2 separate regions of the Homo sapiens genome follow, and region 2 is linked to region 1. Evidence: promoter capture Hi-C in 16 types of primary human blood cells and fetal thymus (Javierre and others, 2016). All regions are on one chromosome and are shown on one strand. Each heading gives the region's core, a stretch centred on a gene start or on the middle of the fragment in contact. The rest is flanking DNA. Distances are from core to core; before and after follow the strand shown.

Evidence for each region. Contacts are between HindIII fragments. The CHiCAGO score rates a contact against its expected background, and 5 or more counts as called.
Region 2: a fragment that was not itself captured here is called in contact with the fragment with the promoter of COL8A1 in region 1 in 2 of 17 cell types (total CD4 T cells and M2 macrophages); the score reaches 6.4 in total CD4 T cells.

Annotation. Positions count from the first base shown.
Region 1 is chr3:99,634,730-99,640,814 of GRCh38, forward strand. It overlaps COL8A1 (collagen type VIII alpha 1 chain), which reads left to right and starts at 3,865. Exons shown (of 4, transcript NM_020351.4): 1 at 3,865-3,935. LOC124909401 (a long non-coding RNA gene) reads right to left here and starts at 3,951. Exons shown (of 2, transcript XR_007095981.1): 1 at 3,858-3,951; 2 at 2,639-3,205. The HindIII fragment of the contact is 3,484 bases long and covers 1,917-5,400 here.
Region 2 is chr3:98,983,388-98,989,472 of GRCh38, forward strand. The region is part of intron 2 of LINC00973 (long intergenic non-protein coding RNA 973); the gene reads left to right. It overlaps LOC124906343 (U7 small nuclear RNA), which reads left to right and starts at 4,000; the gene lies at 4,000-4,062. The HindIII fragment of the contact is 4,175 bases long and covers 1,207-5,381 here.

The DNA.
Region 1 (6,085 bases), core at 2,615-5,114:
CTACAACCATACAGGACACTCCAGGGAAAACTGGGCTAGAACCACTACTGTTTCTGCCACCTTGCTCAGGCCTCCAAGTCTGCAGGATGCAGACACTCTGTTTTCTCTATTTCTAAGTATGCTATCAGTCTGAGATGCACAGGCAAGCATTTATCTGCAAAGCCACAATAAAGACCCTATATTCAAAGAAAAATGAAATCTTGAAAATATGCCACTTTCACCATGCCATTCTATTGCTCAAAAGTCTTCATTGATTCTGCATTGCCTACAGAATATAGTTTATACTTCAGACTACTGAGGTGACCTCATCCCTCCTCATCCCTCCTCTCCATTTCTCAGCCTCATTGTTCTACCACATGGACCTTTCTATACAGTCATGCTGGCCAATTCACCACCTTCTGAATATTCCTGTGATTTCCCTGGTTGCACACATATCCTCCCTTGCCTGGAATGTACTACTGTCCATCACTCGTCTATTCAAATGCTACTTTCCATGGCTCAGCTCAAATGCCACCTCCTCCCTGAAGTCTCTTTACTAAAATTCAACTATCAGGATTTCATGCTTTTCTTCCTCTGTGAGAAAAGATGTCATATTTTCCTCTGCTTTGAATACCTCACATTGTCTGATATCCATTCTTAATAAATATTTGTTAACTGATTAATTCTAAATAAACTCCAAAAAAGGGTTACATTTGCAAAGCTCTCAAAAGTAAGGTAATGATCTGTAGCTGTTATAGCCACACAATGGAAACTTCAGAGCATCTAGTATGTTGTCATTGGATTCCTTTCCTTCCACAGAAGACCAAACTAGGTCATTTCAAACCTCAGTCACCTTCAGAGAGATTCTAGGAAGGGCACACTAAGAGTCAGCAAAGAGACGACATTCCTGGATTCCTGACTTGTTGTCCAGATCTGCTACTGAATCAGATTCAGGTAAGTGTGAATGGGAGAAATGAACTAATTATTAGTGCCATCCAAAAAAATGAAAGCAGTGCTTTTGTTATGTTGGCTGGTTTGAAAGGAAGAAAGAATTAAAAATAAGAAGAGAAATTCAGCCTACAGCCATCAATTGTCTTTTCTTCAAATGTGCTTTTCTTGCCTTTCTGGTATTTTTTTTTTTTCATACGTATGTGATGGAACTGGAATGTTTGAGAAGAATTAACTTAGGATAGAAAAGATGATTTGTTGTAATCTGATAAGGGTATTTACTAACATACTTTATCACCCAGCTTCTCCTCTAAAAGTCCCATTTTGTTTCCCCAGAACACATTTCTTTGCTAAATTAAAAAGTTCCAAAAGTGGTATTGTGCTTGTAAAATCACATCTGATTTCAGCGTTATGTCCAAGAATAGATAATGCAGTCCTATTTCTAGGTCTAGTAACAAGTGTTACTCGTTTGACAGACTTCACTCAGTAGATTTGGCCACATCCTCAAAAGACATACTATTTGGGAAGAGGAAAACTGAGTTATGGAGGGTAAGAAGAGAGTAAAACCAAACAGCAAACGGGCAGAAAGTTGATGTGAAAGTTTTAGCTTTCTAAGCATTCATTAAACTAACAAATGCTGACCATTCTCTATTGTCAGTCCTCAATATTGCTGTTTATTCAATTAGCGAGACTATACATATTTATTGAGCACTTATTTTTTACTAGCTAGTAAGCCACTAGTTATAACTTTGTGCAGCCAAAAAATTATTGAATATAATTTGAATAGGGAACATAGAGATAAAAAATTATAAAAAGGCGAATAATCAATAATGCAAAACATCGTGAGTAAATTTGAAAACTCTGGTGTCAAATTTGTGTTTACGATAAAAATTTTAAATTTTTTATTTCATATATGATTGTTCTTGCCTCATATCCCGGGCACATGGGAGTTTATTTCGTTGACTCCCAGACGTAACCAATTGAGAATAAGCTTAGTTACAAAGGAAGTAATTGAGGCTTTGAGCTCTTGAAGCTAACAGATGGAAATACGTATGTAAAAACCTAAGTGCTGTGTAAACTCGGCACATATGGACGTAGGTATTATTATTATCCAAATGGCACTACTGGGTATTTTCTTAATAGATTCTTTTAAAATGCTTTTTTATAGTTGTGGGCCTTTTTTAGACGAATAGTTCTTAAGAAGAGGAGGGGATTTTGTCCCTCAGCGACATTTGGCTAAATCTAGAGACATTTTTTATTTTCACAGCTGGGTGGCGAGTGCGGAGTGGGTACTGCTACTGGCATCTGGTGGGTAGAGGCCACGGACACTGCTTAACATTCTACAGTGCACAGGAGAGGTCCCTACAACAGAGAAATATTCTCCCGAAAGTTTCAGTAGTGCTAAGTTTGAGTAATTCTGCTCTTCACCATCAAGTTTCCTTCTCTTGGAGCCTGCTACCAGCCAATGACATCAGGATCTAACCTGAGACGAACCTAGGTGTTCTATACGGCAGCCTGGTGTACTGAAGAGTGCCTAAGGTTTGCAAGCTCGCTAGCTGTGGCTCCCCCTCTCGCTAGCTTGAGCTAGTTATTTAAACCCTTAGAGATGCCTTTCTTTAAATTAAAAAAAAAATAAATAAATCTGCACAATATGAATCATACCTACCTCATAAGGTTGCGGTGAACACTGAATGAAGTACATATATACATATTCAGTACAAGTTCGTTCCTTTATTATTTCCAGCCTACCCATCCCTCCCCCCTCCCATTCCCGCCTTTTCCCCCTCCCGGTACTGTATCTCCCACCCCAAGTCTCAGGTTCTCTTTTAAAATGCTTTAATTCCTTTGGTGGCAAAAATCAGGCTTGGGCTAGGAAGTGAGTCACCACTCAGCAGCGAAAGGAGCTTGTTTTTCTTTCTCTGAATGCATTTCTTAGTAATTTCAGACTGATCCTTTAGCCACTTGTTGGTTGAATCCTCTCTTAATGTTTAAGACACACTGAGAAAGAACTGTGGCACCAAGACGTTTTCCGATTGTTAGGAATGAGAGTGTTTTAAATACCGAAAATAACCAGAGGGCAGAGAGCTCTGAAATCCTACGTTACATAAGCAGATGCTGGAAGACCCAGGCTGGTTCTGAGGTTCCTGTCTCCACAAGCAAGTCCACGCGAATCCTCCCCGTTGCTGGATTTACTTTAATGCTGCCGAAGTCTCAAAAGGGGCCTCTGGATGCTCAGAGGACAGGCAGCGCAGGAACTTCCTTGTCAAATAAGCCTTGCCTGGAGGGAGAGGGATGGGGCGATTTTCACCCGCGGGCGGTGGGACGGGGCTGAGGGCTGGGGGCTGCCTGGCTCCAGGCCATGTCAGTGCCTCCAGCTCCAGGTCCGGGTCCACCCTGAACTTTGGCTCTGCTGCCCGGACGCCCAGCTTCACCTCCCTTGCCTCGCTTAGAAACCCTTCAGTTCTCCCGGACCGCTATGTAGCTTTTCAAATTCCCAAATTCACAGAAAACACCTTCAAAAGTCACAATCACCCACAACTCCCTCTGCCAAAAAATGTCATGCAAAAACGGAAAATACTCCGATTCCCCTTTCCTCCCAGACACTCTCTCTCTCTCTGTCTCTGCTATTCATTTTCTCCCCCACCTTTCCCCATCTGTGGTCAAGATCCCTTTCACTATTTCTAGTTCCCTCTCTTTTTTCCCTTCTCCCTCTCTCTCCCTTTTCCACTCCTTCCTCCGTTGTGACCGCGCTCCCCCTCCCCCCGCCCCGTCGTCTCTCCTCCGCCTTGCGGGCTCCAGTCTCTGCCCGCCCCTCCCCAGAGAAGAGTGTCCAGCTCCTCCAGAGGCTGCCCGCCCGCCGCTCCTTCCCTGCCCACCTACTATGAGGAGCAGCTCCTCCCACCTGCCCATAAAAGCCAAGTGCATGTTACCAGCAGCGGATCACAGCCCTTCCCCGATCCTCTCCGTGGGAGCCAGCGAGCCTCTCTCCCTGATCTTACGTGCTCAAGGTAAGACAGCACTTCTGCAGGCAGCTCACCTACCAGGGGTTGCTATGGGGGAATAAGTCACCCTCTGGCCAACGCGTTTGCTGTTTGGTTAGAGCTGATTCTTACGGATGCGCGATCCGCTGCTCCTTTAACTAGCAACTGGTTTGAAAACAAACTTCTGTTTGAATGGTAAAATAAAAGCTCCTTCAGGGAAGAAACAGCAGCATAAATATTGCGAAACCTTTCTCTTTTTAAATCACTTTTTCTCCTGTTGCTGACTGTTGCTTAGGTTAAAATGTATCTGTTTGGGGTGTTGTACTGACGTTTTTCACTGTACATATTTCACACATCAGTGGGGGCAAGGAAAACGTTGTCCCATTGTCAAAAATGTACTTTAAAAGAACACAGTTAACTTCCTAAAAATAGCACAGTCAAAAGGTCTGCTAACAATTTTGTGATGTTTTCCAAACCCCCAAGACAGCTTCTGTGAGTCCTTTAAAAAAATATCTTTCCAGGTTTTAGCGCTTGGAAAAAAATGATGTGAACGGGTGCCCTTTGCACGGGGACAGTAAGTAATCAGGTGGCTGGTAGATAGGAAGGAACAAATCCAAATTCACAAGCCAGGGTAGAATGTGCTCTCTCACCAGGCTATCTTTTCACGACATCCTAAAATGAGAATTACGATGGAACTAAGAAAGTGTATAAAAGAACTTCATGAATTTCTGTACACACACCTAAACATAAAGTGTTTCAATATGTTTCACAGTAAGAGAATAATACAGGCCAGATTATACAATACTTCTGTGCACACCAGATGGTTGTAAAGAAAGATCAGCGAGAAAGGCTTTGGAAGTTTTAATCCTTCTTTCCACCTTTTTTCCCCCGCATTTAGTAAATCACAACCTACCTGACTGGCATCCAATTATCAGAGATATTCAGTGTTTAAGCTACCCTCTTTAAAAGAAAATGATCTCTTCTTATTCCTAAGGTAGAATAAATGTGCACCTGTGAAAGGAAAAACATACTCCACAGCCACTTCTGTAAAACCAGACACTTGGTCCATGAAGTTTGCCATCAAATTCTGTGGGTTGTGTGGGATGAAACTCTCTCAAGTGGGAGAAAAACCCTCTTCAAATGTTTCCTCTGGGGAATTGCTCAAGACCACTTAGAGAAGGCAAACCAAAAGTACCAGTCAGGAAACCAAACCACTCTTTTAGCCCTTAAGGTTCTTAAAGTAAGAAGAGAAATGTTTCACTTTTTTATTTTTTTGTTTGTTTATATTATCTCATGTGGAAAGAAAAAACTCACCGAAGCTGTATGAAATTCTCCCCTATTAAAGAAACAAGACTCATTAGAAATTTAACTTAGGTCTTCCAAACCATTTCTCCTTAGCTTTTGCATATCAAAAGTAATAAAAATATTTAAAAGTTCTGCTTGAGATGGAGAGGATTCAATGCTGTTACTCAAATGCAAGAGTTATATATAAAGCTTCTGTCACGTTAAATTTTTCTTCATTGGAAAAAAATATTGCAAGAAGTGCAGTTTCCTTTAAGCAAATTATATAAAATTACTATTGGCCAAGATAGTATGTGACCTGAGCATATTAACATACCTTTTATCTCATGCCACAATGCAGACTGCTTGCTTTATATCTGATGCACATAGGTAATCAACCATGACAAGAGTACAGGTATGGGACAAGGCCAGACCAAGTATGTGGCACATTCAAGTTAATTCTTCTTTTATGGTAGTGCCTGACTCACACCCATTATCACAAGGATGAAAATACGCTGCTTCATTCACCAGATCCCCTTGAGGGAAGTTATCTTTTCTTGGGGTGGAGGGGGAAATGCTCCCAGTTTAAATGAGCTTCCAGTTATTCCTAAGTTTGGGGATAAAAGTATTCTCCAAGGGTTTACTTCTGCTTTCTCTGGCAATTAATCCACCGGACCAGCTATGGACCGTTAAACAGTAACTGCCTTCCCTATGTCCCATCAAGTTCAAGCCCCTAAATAACTGAGTGAGATCATCTTAGATTGCTCATGATCTAAGTTTCCCAGGAGCAAAGCTATCCTTTCTCCATAGGGTACATACCAAGCAAGATGACACTGCTCTTCTTAAGCTTTTAGAAAAATCAGTGTCGAAGTTTCATGTAGTCGCCCCCAAATCTC
Region 2 (6,085 bases), core at 2,044-4,543, 650 kb before region 1:
AATGCTGTATAAGGTAGGCAATAAAATTAGAGAATGTTTGCCGAACCCACTAAGCAGCAAAGAGGACCCAGCTTAGAAGTAATGTAAATTTTAAAGCTCTTTACCAGTGGCAAGCTAATTTGAAATATTAGAAGTTATTATTTGTTTTATGTTTCTCTCTCTAGCAGTATAGTTTTTAACCGGCTTGTAAGAGCTCTTTTGTTAGTAATGATATCAACCCTTCTTCTCTAAATTAGTTGTTTGCTTATTTACAATTTCTGAATTTTTCTCAAACATGACAATGATTCTGATGCAGTGGTTCTCAATCAGGGGTAGTTTTGTACTCCAAGGGACATTTTGGCAATGTCTGGAGACATTTTTGGTTGTCAGAACTAAGAGGACTGTGCTCTGGGCATTTAGTGGTTAGAGGACAAGAGTGCTGCTAAACATCCTATAACGGACAGGGTGTCACCCACAACAAAGAAGTATCCAACTCCAAATGTCAATAATGCTGCAGCCGAAAAACCCTGGTCTAAGGAATCATCATCCTGGTGTATTTTTTTTTTCCAGTAGTTCGGAAGAATGTGAAGAATTCTCCCAGAATTTTTCAAGATATTCCAAGTACCTATTTATTTTATAATCCTTGAAGACTTACTAAGTACCCATAAACTGGTTGAGGAAAGCCAGTTTCAAAATAAATATGAAATCATATTTATTTTTCTCTGATTAATCAAGGTCATCATGTTTTTAGATGCCCTGCAAAGAAAACTGGTCAAAATGTAAGACTGGCCCTCACATTAAATCATCCAAACTAGTAACACTCCTCTAAAGGACTTCCCTCTTGGAACATTCTTGACTTTCACATAATCAGTAGGCAACCTCCTTAGTCAAGGAGTCCTCTCTAACTGGCAAACCTATCATTTGGAAGAATGATCTTTTCTTCCTCCTTGCTGACTTTAGTTTCAGACAGCTAATTACAAGTCCTTGTTCCTCCGTGACCTAGACCTGTGACTTAAGGCAAATTACAATACCTTTTTTTCATGCCTAATTTTATTTAAAGATTTGAAAACTGTATTGCAATATAACTGAAATAAACTAAATTGCACAAAGTATAAAATTTAATATGTTTGGATATATGTATACACTTAAAAAACTTCACCACAATGAAGATAACAAACATATTCATTACCTGCAATGAAGATAAAGAACATATTCATCACCTGCAAAAGCTTCATTTGCCCCTTTGTAATACCTTCCACTTGTCCCTCCCTGCCTCTTCTCCTTGTTCTCAAGCAACCACTCATTTGCTTTCTGTCACTAAAGATTAGTTTGCATTTTAAAAGAATTTTATAAACTGGAAGAGTCACACAAAATGTCTTAGGGAATTTTTTTCACTCAGTATAATTATTTCAAGATGTATTCCTGTTGTTGAGTGTATCAATAGTTCAGTTATTTTGATACTCAGTAGAATTCTGTTGTATGGATAAACCCCAATTTATTTATCCATTCACCTAGTGGTAGACATTAGGATATAATACTTTTTCTTTCATCAAGTTTTTCACTATCTCTTGATGTTTACTTTTGTAAATGACTATTTTTCTGAGTGCACTGAGTGATAACCAAGCAAAACTTTTTGAAAATCTACCCACCAAAAATATTGCTGAAATATAAAGTTTTTGTGAAATTTGACACCTCACTTTGGACCTCAAAGATATTGGATAAACATGAAAATGACTACTTCTAGTATCACAAAAACAATAAAAATAGAAGAAATAATTATACTACTAACTGCCTAAATCATCAGCCATTTTTCTTACATTTTTTAAAGCAATTGGTCTTCTCAGATTCTCAGTTGGAGGGAATGAGATTTCTTCCCACTTGGGAAGTGGGAAGCAGTAGGTAAGATAAAAATCACTCAGGAAGTGTGAAAAGACTTGGCTTAAGTTGGGTAACTGTGCAGCTGAAAATTAGAATAATAAACTGCCTTTTTAACCTGGATGAAATTTTTTTTACGTTTCATATTTCAGCATTCTAGAACTCTTTTGGAGGGCTTCCATCTCTCCAATTTGTTGCTAGTAAAATACAAAAACTCTGCTTCTTGCAAGGTGTTTGATTTGGAAGATATTCATTAACAATTACTCACCAGGAAAAAGGAACACTCTTTTGATCTTAGTAGTTCACCTTTCTTAAGCTGATTTAAGAGCTCCTCATCATGGTGCCCATGAGTGCTACATCAAATAATACATGTCAAAGCCCTAAAATATTAAGCAATTTCTGGTTAATAAGGAGTTTTTGAACAGAAGGAAATCTGTAACACTGTGAGCTTTTCGGTCTGGGAGTTAAGTAGATATAAACAGGACGAGGAAAGAATACACAATAAGCAACTTATCTCGTTAATTTTCCACACATTCCTAGACATTTGTGAGTGGATAACCTGGGCTTTTATTGTCCAACTGTCACTTTCACTGCATCAATTTAAAAATACAGCTGAAGAGCATGTTTTACTTAGAGTTTGTTTTTAAAACTAGCCAGTTAAATTGATCAGTTGTTAGATCTGACTTGATTACATCTAAGATATTCTCACAGGAAACTGGTTATGATAAGAACTTAAATTCTATCATCTGCTTATGGTAACTTAGCACAAGAAGCATTTTTTTTTAAAGGCCCCTTTCTTATCTTTTATTATTCGAAAATGAAAAACATATTTTTCTAGTATTACTGAGAAACACCAAGGGACCCACCCAACTCCCAGGCTACTCACTGTTCTTTCTCTTAATTGCTTTTGCATCATGTCCAAGTCTGAGCATTTGCACTGAACACATGCTTGATAAACTCTGCTGGCTGAAGATGCTTGTCTGCTTTGCATTCCTCAGCCTGTGAAGGATTTTTTTCTGCTTCACATACCTAAAGGGGCAAAGGTCAAATCCCCTCAGCTGCAGATGAGGTCATATTGCTGATCGCCTGCAGCTGATCACAATAAAAACAAGTTCTCCCATGTGATCCATCCTCCCTATTTAGGAGCAGTGATGTCATCTCTAGTGAGACAGGATGAGACATGCAACTTGTTTTAAATTGAACTACATAAATTTTTCTTCTGACTTCACTGCAATCTTTTATTTACATTTTAGCAAAAGGATTAGTTTGGTCATCGTTTCAAACTAAAAAACACCCATAAATGAAATAGAGGGAGATTATATTTTATAAGTAGTCATTCATATTAAGTTGAGCCACATGAAATCGCCATTTTTCTATGTAAAATGATTGGATATTGGCAATTTCATGGTTCATCCTAATACTTCCAAAGCACCTACCTCCTAGAATATTAAACAAGTTCTAGAATCAGGCAGACCTTAGTTTGAATTCCAACTCTGCCATTTACTAGCTGGGTGATCTTAAAACTTTAGGGTAACTTTCAGAACCTCACTTTACTAAATTAAAAAAAATGAATAACATAATATGTACCTCACAGGGTTATAGCTAACACCTGTAAAGTCCTTAGGAAATCATTTGCCTACAGGAGGCACTCAATCCATGGTGTTAGTAACAATAGAATTAATACTGGTAGTGTAGTAACATAGGTCCCTTAGCCAAAGCCCTAGGGTCAGATGTGTTTCAGAGCTCGTAACTTCTCTGATTTTAGAAAAATCAGAAAAGTTATGAGTGGTGCTTATACTACTGTATACTACTGTATACTTATTATATAGTAGTATAATATTATAGTATTATAATATTATACAGTACTATAATATTATAGTATTATATAGTAGTAGATATATTAGATACCATGAGGATATTATGAGTAGTGCTTATACTACTGTACTGTAGTGCTTATACTCAGGACTAGCTACATAATTTACAGGGCTCTGTGGTGGGGGTGGGGAAAGCAAGGCATCTTGTTAAAAAATTATTAAGGATTTCATGATGCCACAGCAGAGCTTTTAGCCAAGTGCAGGGTCATTGTTAAGTGTAGGGCCCTGTGTGACTGCCCTGTTGTTTACATACTGTCTCAATATATACCCACAGTGTTACAGATCTTTTAGAATTTGTCTAGTACATTTTCCAGTTTTCACCAGGAATCTGCCTCCCCACCCCCCACAAAAAGTGAATAAAAAGAAAGGAAAAAGAAAACAAATAAATAAAATATATGTATACCCACAGCAAGGTCTGAGGACAGTATTCAAACACATTAATGCTTCTCTAGGAAAATGTTTGAATATTGACACTAAGTGGAGTACTTGACATGAAAAAATGCTCACCATCACTGGCCATCAGAGAAATGCAAATTAAAAGCACAATGAGATACCATCTCACACCAGTTAGAATGGCAATCATTAAAAAGTCAGGAAACAACAGGTGCTGAAGAGGATGTGGAGAAATAGGAACACTTTTACACTGTTGGTGGGACTGTAAACTAGTTCAACCATTGTAGAAGTCAGTGTGGCGATTCCTCAGGGATCTAGAACTAGAAATACCATTTGACCCAGCCATCCCATTACTGGATATATACCCAAAGGACTATAAATCATGCTGCTATAAAGACACATGCACATGTATGTTTATTGTGGCACTATTCACAATAGCAAAGACTTGGAACTAACCCAAATGTCCAACAATGATAGACTAGATTAAGAAAATGTGGCACATATACACCATGGAATACTATGCAGCCATAAAAATGATGAGTTCATGTCCTTTGTAGGGACATGGATGAAACTGGAAATCATCATTCTCAGTAAACTATCGCAAGAACAAAAAACCAAACACCGCATATTCTCACTCATAGGTGGGAATTGAACAATGAGAACACATGGCCACAGGAAGCGGAACATCACACTCTGGGGACTGTTGTGGGGTGGGGGGAGGGGGGAGGGATAGCATTAGGAGATATACCTAATGCTAAATGACGAGTTAATGGGTGCAGCACACCAGCATGGCACATGTATACATATGTAACTAACCTGCACATTGTGCACATGTACCCTAAAACTTAAAGTATAATAATAAAATAAAAAAAAAACAATTAAAAAAAAAGACTGTAAATATCTTTCTGTCAGTTCAGGTCAGATTTACCACCAAATGCATTTACCACAAACTTAGGAAAACCTTGCAGTTTTCAGAACATTTTGGATCTGGAATTTCAGATAAGGGACTGTAGTGGGGTTTACATTGTGTTTTCCAGGCTAGCCACACATTGGGGGTTTATGTAACAGACCTGAAGGTCAATCTGAGAATATTGAAGCCAAGGGCAATTGGGTTCGAATCCTGTTTTGACACATAGTAGTTGTGAGACTTTAGGCAAGACACTTTGGAGGCAGGGTTATAATGTGGTTCCCTAGGAGCCTTGGCTGAAGGGATGGGAGGGAAATCACAGCCTTCATTTACTGGTGGATGGATGGGCAGCAAGCTTCTAATGACAACAATAAACATAACCAAACAATGCCCACCACCCCAAAAATGCAAACCCAACAATTTGACTTCGTCTTCTACTTTATTTAGAGTTCTGCCTTCACTTACTGTCTTCTGATGCCTCTCATCATGGTGTTAACTGTCATGCTAACATATTTTCTTTACAAATGCGCTCTTAATACAGAATGTGACCAGGGAGTGAAGCTGTGTGATATGGTTTGAATCTATGTCCCTGCCCAAATCTCATGTCGAAATGTAATCCTCAACATTAGAGGTGGGGCCTGGTGGGAGGTGATTGAATCATGGGGGCAGACCCTTCATAAATGGTTTAGCACCATCTCCTTGGTGTTGTTCTTGTGATAGAGTTCTCAGAGAGCTGGTTGTTTAAAAGTGTGTTGCTCCTCCCTCCTGACCCTGCCACTGTTCCCCCCTTGCTAGACACCTTGCTGTCCTTTTGCCTTCTGCTGTGATTGGAAGCTTCCTGAGGCTTCGCCAGAAGCAGAAGCCACTATGCTTCGTGTATTGCCTGCAGACCCATGAGCCAATTAAACCTCTTTTCGTAATAAATTACTCAGTCTCAGGTATTTCTTTATAGCAGTGTGAGAATGAACTAATACACTGTGCCTCCTGTCTAAGCATCCATCCCAGCTCTGTCTTTGGCCAAAATTTGAGTCTGTGGAATAATAATGGGTGCCATTTA